Linked DNA regions of Homo sapiens: region 2 is linked to region 1. The links are contacts of gene promoters, found by promoter capture Hi-C in blood cells and fetal thymus (Javierre and others, 2016). All regions are on one chromosome and are shown on one strand. Each heading gives the region's core, a stretch centred on a gene start or on the middle of the fragment in contact. The rest is flanking DNA. Distances are from core to core; before and after follow the strand shown.

Region 1 (4,227 bases), core at 790-3,289:
GAGATGCCATCCAAGAGCCAAGGACTGGAATCAGGGACCCAAAGAGCTGGCTTGGTGCTCTTTCCCACTGTGGCTAAGCTGGTACCTAAGCTCAAGACGGAGTCCCCTTTATTCTTCCCTCTGTTCTTCTCAAGCAGAAGTGGTCTCTCCTCGTAGCCACCAGACCTGTGAATGTGCTGGGTCACATCTGAAGCCAGTGCATTTCGGAGTTTCAGCTGAGGCCCACGGTATGTAGTACTTGGCTACTGCTACTGATTTTTCAGGGTCCAAAGGCTCTTTATTCAGCATGTGATGAAATCTGCCAAGACTGGGTCCTTCCCTTCAAGGCAGTTCCCTTTTGGCCCAGGGTATATCTAGAAATGTCATCCAAGAGCTAGGGCCTGCAATGAGTGCCTCAGGATTTTGCCCAGTACCCTATCCTACTCTGGCTGAACTGGTATCCAAGTTGCAAGACAAAGTCCTTTTCACTCTTCCCTCTTCTCTCCTCAAGCAAAGGAAGGAGTCCCTTTTGGAGCCATAAGCTGTGTTGCCTGGGGTTGGGGGAGGGGTGCTGTAAGCACTTACTTAGCCATCCTGGCTGGTGTCTTACTAGATCGTGCGCTCCCCAGTCCACTGGCTCAGAGCCCAGCACAGCACTAGGACTTGCCTGGGTATTGCAGTTGTTGTGGCCCAGACAGGCTTTCAAGTTTATTTAGGACCTCAGAGCACTTTAGCCCATGGTGGTGGAGGTAGTCAAAACTCAGTTTCTGAAACCTGGGATGGGCAATTCTCCTCTGGCTAAGGGTGGTCTAAATGGTCCCTCCATTGGCAACAGCTAAGTTCTGCCCCGTATTGGCAGCACTGAATTCTAGAGTCCCACAATCGCTGTGCCCTCCCTCCAAGTGCACAGATTCTCTCTCCACACTATGTGGCTGCTGCCAGGGGATGGGGGAGGGGTGGTGTCAGCAATTCAAGATTGTCTTTCTTATCTTCCTCAGTGCTTCTTTCAACAATACGAAGTTAAAACCAGGTACTGTGATCACTTTGTGATCACTGATTTTTGGTTCTTATGAAGGTGCTTTTTTGTGTAGATAGTTGTTAAATTTGATGTTCGTGCATGGAGAACAATCAGTGAAGGCTTCTGTTTGGCCATCTTGCTCTGCGTCCTCCCCAACTTAGGATTTTTTTACTTTATCATGGGTTCATCAGGGTATTGCATGCATTTTTGACTTACAATATTTTCAACTTGTGGTGGTTTATTGAGATGTAACCCTATCATAAGTCAAGGAGCACCTGTACTATGGTAATAGAGACAGCTAGTATATCCCTTTAAATAGGAAACATACAGTGTCATAAGCTCAATGTGATTTATTCAGATTTAGACCCTAGTAATTATAAAAGTCTATACAAGTTTTTTTTTCTTTCTCAGCAATCTTAACTTCCTGTGACTGAGATTCATTGTTTTAAAGTGCATTCACAGTTGAGAAGGTTTACTTCAGAATCTCAGGGAACTGCACTAAAGAATCTGGTATCAATTTTCTGAGGATTTAAAAAAATCATACTTAAATGCTGAGTTATAAAAGATGTTGGCAAGTACAACATTTTTTCCAAACTATACGATAAAGAGCATTGAAATTTATCATGCCCCAAACCCATTAAAATTATCTTCACCTGTAACTGAACATCAGCTGTTATTTCCTTACCTTCTTTTGGCTTTCAACTTCTAGGATGTCTGTTGAAACACCCCTCAATGTTTATGTGGCCTCCAAGGCATACAAACATTTACCAGGGTAACCCCATAAGGAAAGAATTGGAAGTTTCATTTATTTTTTTCCTACCTTTAGTTCTCTTTTTTCCATCTTTCAGATCTTTAGATGTTCTGAGTTTTTCTAGCTGGAGACTGGGGAAACCTAGCTCCCCTCACTGTGGCCAGTGGAAGACTGCTGTGGAGAACCTGAATCCAAAGTGTTTTTTGTTAGGAGACGAAGTAAACAGGCCAGTTTACAGTTTCAATACCAGTATGCCTTTTTCTCTACCAACATCTGTGTGATTTACATCTTGAATCATATAATTCCATTCAGAATGAAAAGCTCAGTTTCTGATTGGCTGAAATGAGTTCTAGTATTCCTTTCTTTGTTAGAAGTCAAAATCACAATGTTCTGGAACATTAGCATGTGTTGGGTAAAGTTGATAACAGTATACTAAAACTCAGATAGCTGCTTCAGTACTGAAGTCAGAACAGTTCTCCCTGGAAAGACAACCAAACTTTTCTCTTATTGTAGCACTACATTGTAATTGCTTATTTAGCTATTTTGTAAGCTACTTTTATTCTGTTACTTCTCTGGTATTCCCAGGGTCCAGGACATTATCATGAATTCAAGAAATGTTTGATGCATAAATAAAGGAATGAAAATATATAAGGAATATTATGTTTACTAAAGGCATAATAGTTTGGCTCTTCCTGACTATCCTGAGTTATGATCAACTCTGAAAAAGGGAGTAATTTTTCAAGTCTATTAAACATAGCAGGGTGGAGGTGGAGGTAAGAAGAGTTGGGGAAAGGTATATTATGAAACATAGAAATACTATTTACTAAATACATATTAACAAATCTTAGCATAATTTAATTTTACTCCAGGCTGCCCCCCATCCCTTTCCCCTGCCCTCTTTTTTCTTGCCTATAGAATGTAAGGAAGGGAACACACTTCTTTGTTAAGGAAAACTGAGTAAGGTTGTCATTTCATTCTGTTATGACTGGAGTTTTTCCTTCTCATCATTCATCAGGTCAATTTAAGTTTTATACATCTAAACTGTGTAACACTGCATATAAAAATAAGTCCATGTTTAAGACAAAGTGGAAAAGTACCAAACACTTTTAAAAAATGAATTGAAGAAAACCTTCTCTTTGACAACTTCGGTTTTCATTTGGGGAGGTGGTATGAAATCATCTAGGTACATTTTTGTCTATTGGGATGAAGAATGCTATCCACTAAGAATATTGATTTAAAAATCAAATGCCTGGACTGGAGGGGAAGGAAAGGACAAAAGACTGCATGCTATGTGCTATTTTACATCAAGTCACCTCCTTCCTGCTATACATGAGCTTCAGTTGATGCCTTGGTTTGGAGCCTTTGAACTTTCTTAGTTATCACTGATTTTAAATGGTAGTCACTGGACCGGGGATACAATTAAAATAATGTAACATGCCATATGAACATTTTAAACCAAGAAACTGATTTTTCATTTTTGAGTGGAGAACTCAGTCCTTAAAAAAATTTGTGGTCCGAAGAAACAGCATTACTAATGAGGACTCTCCCTTTTACAACTGGGGGTTCCTGCCCACATCTTCCAAATACCTCCTTTGCCAGGGCTTGCCTAGGTCAGATGTGAAGTAAATAGAACTGATGAATGATTTTTTTGACTCTCTTGTCATGTAGTTTTCTGTCATCTTAATATGCTGAAGGGGAGCACATTCAGAAGTGATCTCATTTGAGAAGGACTACTTTCAAGTTCTATTTTAGGCCACATAAATTTTCAAAAAATAAAATTCTGAATTAAATCTTAAACCTTTGGGAAGGCTTCAGATCACATATTTGGTGGAATGTACTATATTACCTAAATAATAAACATTTTATTTGGATACATCTTTGGGATGCTTGTTAAAAAATTATAGATTAAAATTTTAGTGTTAGAATTACCATTTGAGGATAGAGGAATAAAAAGTTCTCTATTCCTTCAAACTTATATGGACTCCATTTTTCTAGTGCTTTACTGACATCATGAAGAGTCTTTCTTCTCAAGGTGGCAACATTTCCTTGCCTTGTACTTTTATTCTGAATGATGTGGTTTTTCGCCCTTACATTTGCCATATAGAATTTATGAGGTTTATGTGTTTTTGCTCTACAGTTTCTTCTATGATCTTACATTTTATCTCCCTTAAGAGTGTTTAGAAAAACAATAATAGGAAAAAATATTTTGGTGCAATAATAAGTAAAAATGGGATTCCTGGAGGTGGATTGGAATTATTTAGTCTTCTGTGTTTTTTCTAGACATCCATAAATTTTCTTTTTCTTTTTATTCTTCTATTGGACAGAAATTTCACTTGAAGGTAGATTATTAGTCTCTACCAAAGACCGTCTTAAATCACAATGCTTTAAGAACTTTTGAATTAAGCTTCTTAGAGGAACACATAATATATTCACCTTACCTTGTTTTAGTTGAAACAAATTCTTTTTTAAATTTAGGTCT
Region 2 (4,880 bases), core at 384-2,883, 240 kb after region 1:
AAAAACCCTGTCTTCAGACAGGATATGGGGGAGGAGTTAAGTGGTGATGTTTTACACATGCACATCTGGATACAGTCCAATTATTTCCCTTAAACATTCCCCCAGTTGTTTTCATTTTGCTCCATGCTTTGGCATTCATAAATTTGTGAGATTAATTGTGTGTCAGCAGTCTGCAGGCCTGGAGCTGGGCACCAGTTTAGTAGCAATACGGCTACAAAACAACTCTGTAGAGAAATACGTTCACATATTTAAAAAGGAAAGCATAGTCACATAGTTCGTTTCTGTTTAATATCAGGCATTGACGTTATGCATAAAGAAGGTAGTGTAATCTTTCAGGGAATTGCCCTAATAGCAAGATATATATAGATATATATCTCCACGCCTACCAGAAATATGTGTGTGTGTGTGTGTGTGTGTGTGTGTGTGTGTGTGTAAACTCAAGTGTTTTAAAGCATAAGAAAGGATTCATCAAGAGGAAAAATGAAGAGTTCAGGGCTGGACATATTTGTGTTCCTTGTTTTCATCTGATTATTTTGAAGGGCGTGTCAACAGATTGCATTTCTTGTCTTGGAAATGTACTAACAATTAAAATCACCTTTGCCAAAAAGAACCAACTTATCTTAGAGATGGTGGAGAAGCATCTTTATTTTAAAAGATGTTTTGCAAAGCCTCTTATGCTTTCAAAATTACTATATGAAAAGTGAAACTAGAAGCTTTCTGCCCTGATGTGTAGGCCTCACAGTCCAGATTATGAGCTCAGCTAAGGAAGAGCTGTGTTCCCCAGAGCCCAGCGGAGTGGCGGCACTTGGTAAGTGCTCCGTACTTGCCAGTTGACAACAAAAGAACTATCATTTAAATGTTGGTAAACAGATATTTATTCTTGTTTAATGTTATTTTGCCTTATATCCATGAGTAGGAAATAAACTATTAGATATTGTGACATTTTTCACAAGTAAATGCCACATGCCAAAGTAAGGTAATAGGTAGGGCAAATTTTCATACATATACATAACAGAGGAGAGTGTTCCAGATTAAAGTTCTGAGATTTGCAACATCAGTATTGGGAGGAAACTGGCAGCTTCTCCTCTAACCCTCTACAGAAACACAAAACAGCTATTGGAAACATGTAGAGCATTCCTCTGGAAAATAATTAGGCTTCAAATAAATCATATGCTATTCCTGCAATAAAAGAAGGAAACTTTTTATGATCTTCTGTTTTCCCTCAAGTATGCTATATGTTGAGAAGTTTTACCTAAATCACACTGTATTCTAGCAGTAAGCTCTTAATTATATAAGAAATAAAATGCATTGCAGATATTACAATGAATCCACTTGTCCTTAGACTATTTATCTATCAGAATATTTTCTAGGCCAATATATTTGAAGGCTACTGAGAAAATCACACACTGTTCTTTGGCTTTAGTTTCCTTGTGAGTAAAATGAGGTGCATAATCTCAGCCCTATCTACGATACAGGGTAAAAGTCAGGATCTAACGAGTGAAATTGGTAAACCATAAAGAACAAACAAGTGTTGGTTAGCATGCAGTAAACATACAAACTCTCCTACTCATGGTTCTGTATTGAAAAACCGAAATACATAGTATCTTATTCTTTACATAAATTAATTTACTGATCTTGAGACCTAACTGAATCATGATAGTATATCCACATAGACTAGATTTGTTCCTACAGGGCAAACTGCCATGCATTCATGCTAAACTATACAAGAGCAGCCAGGTAACAGAAGGCAATGCTGCTTCAAAAACACTGCAAATTTGACTCAGAACTCAGAGACACGGTATGATATTTGTAACATATTTACAGATACAATTAGGCTTTACTGAAGCTAATTGATTTTCACCACCTGAGCTTATTATCTACTAATGGTAGGGTTCTAGTCGTCTAATCCCTGCTATGTACGCCATGGGCGAAAATCTAATTAACCTCTCAGAGCCTTAGTTTTTTAATACATAAAAAAGTAATAACACCTGCTCTGATGAAGCTATTGTGAAGATTAAAATGTGAGATATGAAGAAGTGCTTTTACAGAGTAGTCACCCAGTACTTATTGGTTATATCTAAAAATTATTGAATCTGTATTCCCAAAACTATGCTGGAAAATAAGTCCAGAATTAAATAAGGCCACAAATAATCCAAGCAGAAATGATCCGGCATAGCATCATTAAAATATACACACATATTTATAAATATTGCCTGTATACATTTTTCTTAGAAAGTCCATGTAAGTTATACAGAAGCTGAAATAAACCATAGCAAAAAAAACTTCTCCCCTCTTCTCAATGACATCTTGAATTTAGCAGTTCTTATTTTATTTTAGTAGAATAATACTTCTATTAAATCACTTTAATGATAATTATAATTAATACTTATATAATCCTTTAACTTTTCAAAGCACGTTCATACCAATTATTTTCTTTTGGTTTCCAAACAACATTATGAAAATATAATCTTGAATTTAATACCAGTTAAATACTAGTGGGAGTAACAAACTTTGTCAAAACTAAGATGCAATAACACTACTCAGAAAAGCTTTGCAACACAACCAGTGGCCAAATTCCACTTCATTACATGTAGATCACAGTCCACAAATGACAATCAGTCACCACTAATAATAAACAAAAAATTTTTGGATTCTAGTCCAGGCAGGAGAATGCTTTTCATGAATGCAAAATTAGAGGTGACATTCTGAAAGTAGGCTCCACAAAACAACTAGCTCAGCATTCTAAGTCCAGTTTCATTCAAAGTACACACAGATAACTACTATCACCGCCCTGGCTTTAGAGTATTAGCTCACCCAGCAGTTCAAAGCATTCCTTATATTTTAGACTAGAGGAGGATCACCATTTTTGCTCTATTTTATGGACTGAGACATAAAGCGATAGAGACATGCCCATGGAGCTGGAATAAGACTTATTCTATTTCATCTCCATAAGGTGACCCCTTAACCCCCTGCAATCTAGCTTCTGTCTTTACCATTGTATTGACAATGAAATCCTAAAGATCACTGATGATCAACTAATAATCAAACCCAGTGACTTACTCTTTCTTCCTTTCATTGATATCTCTGTAACATCAGCTTGAAGTTGAAGTAAACCAGGGTCCATTCTCTGTCTCTCTTTCTCTCTCTGTTTTGCTCTCTTGCTGTATCTCTTGCACACCCTTTCTCTCTGTCTCTCTCCCTCTCTTCATCATCACGGCATGCACTATCTTACTACCTTGCTTCTTTTAACTGCTTCATCTATGTTCATTCCTATCCCTTCCTTACTTGTGGATTCTCTGACTTACACATCAACCTCCTACTCCCCTCTCCAGTCATCTTCACTTCATATATGTAAAAAATTTACTACTGTACTCTCAGAATTATACAGACTCAAGTACATAATAAATACTCAATAAATATTTTTAAATAAATGAATAAATTACTCTCAATGGAAAAATCAATCTCTGGACACTTTCTTAAGATTTAAGTTTATTTTTTAACACCAGTGTGTTGGATGGATTGGAATTGGATTTTTTTCTTCTTCTTATTACAGCCATATGCCACATAACCACATTTTAGTTGAGAAGAGACCACACCTTCAATGACAGTGGTCTCATAAGATTATATGACAGTATTATTACTGTAGCTTTTCCTCTGTTTAGATATGTTTAGATACACTAATACTTAGCACAGTGTTACAATTGCCTACAGTATCCAGTACAGAAACAGGCTTTACAGGTTTGTAATCTAGGAACAAAACAAACAGCCTAGGCATGTAGTGGGCTAGACCATCTAGCTTTGTGTAAGAACACTCTATGATGTTTGGACAACAAAGAAAGCGCCTGATAACACAACTTTTAGAATATAATTATATCGTTAAGCAATGTATGACTGTATATTCATTGGGCACATTAAGGGAAAAAAACCCTATAAAATATAGTATTTACCACAGGATAATACTGAGGATGTGCATGACCTTTAGGAAGATCCAATGGAGACATTTCTCTCAGATTGTGTTTGTCTTATGGATACCAAAACCACATCACTGTTAGCATTTCCCCTGGGTTGGCTATAAGTCCACTCAGAGCCAAAGTGCTTTATAACACACAGTTAGGTATCTTTTAACATTACTTCCCTTACTCCTATTGTCTCATCCCTAACTCTTACTCTCATCCCGTAATTTTGTCTCTTAGTTATCTTACATTTCTAAGCCCCCACAAGGCAGGTAATGAAGTCCTTTATCCTAAACTTCTTTCTCAACATTTTCAATTATCCAACTTGGTTTTAGAAAGTACAGTAGCGCCCCCACTTCCCCTTATGTGTAGGGGATACATTCCAAGATCCACAGTGGATGTCCAAAACCTTGAATTGTAACAAACCCTAAATATACCATGTCTTTTTTCCCATACATACATAGCTATGATAAAGTCGAATTTATAAATTAGGCACTGTAAGAGATTGATAACAATAATTAATAATAAAATAGAACAATAATAACAATATACTATAATACAAGTTACGTGAATGTGGTGTCTCTCTCTCTCTCTCTCTATTCTTGTACAACACTCACCTATTTTCGGACCACAGTTGACCACAGGTAACTGAAACTGCAAAAGCAAAACCATGGATAAGAGAGGACTACTGCAAAAGAAACTTTGAAAAACTGGCTCTTACTGGAAAAAAATACATTTTCAGAATTATATCATTGTTCTCTCAAACTCAAAACACACCATCGCCAATTCCTCAGTTTCCCTTTGCGTTAAGCACCTTCAGTCACCAAGTCCTACTGAGTTTCTTTGTAGTTTGATCTATGTTCTTTCCTTTCCCTTCCTATATTCATAGCCCTAGAGCAGGCTTTCGTTACAATATCTAATATTATT

Evidence for each region. The method cuts DNA at HindIII sites, captures the fragments that hold promoters and counts their contacts. A CHiCAGO score of 5 or more calls a contact.
Region 2: a fragment that was not itself captured here is called in contact with the fragment with the promoter of C1orf105 in region 1 in 3 of 17 cell types (non-activated CD4 T cells, activated CD4 T cells and naive CD4 T cells); the score reaches 8.8 in non-activated CD4 T cells.

Annotation. Positions count from the first base shown.
Region 1 is chr1:172,418,497-172,422,723 of GRCh38, reverse strand. C1orf105 (chromosome 1 open reading frame 105) reads right to left here and starts at 2,039. Exons shown (of 7, transcript NM_139240.4): 1 at 1,818-2,039. The coding sequence starts at 1,838. It overlaps LOC102724528 (a long non-coding RNA gene), which reads left to right. Exons shown (of 3, transcript XR_001738294.3): 1 at 1-227. The HindIII fragment of the contact is 10,347 bases long and covers 1-4,154 here.
Region 2 is chr1:172,176,929-172,181,808 of GRCh38, reverse strand. All of the region lies in intron 14 of DNM3 (dynamin 3), which reads right to left. Among named protein-coding and RNA genes, the nearest start is that of DNM3OS, 35 kb to the right of the region's middle. RefSeq lists an enhancer at 614-663. The HindIII fragment of the contact is 1,836 bases long and covers 716-2,551 here.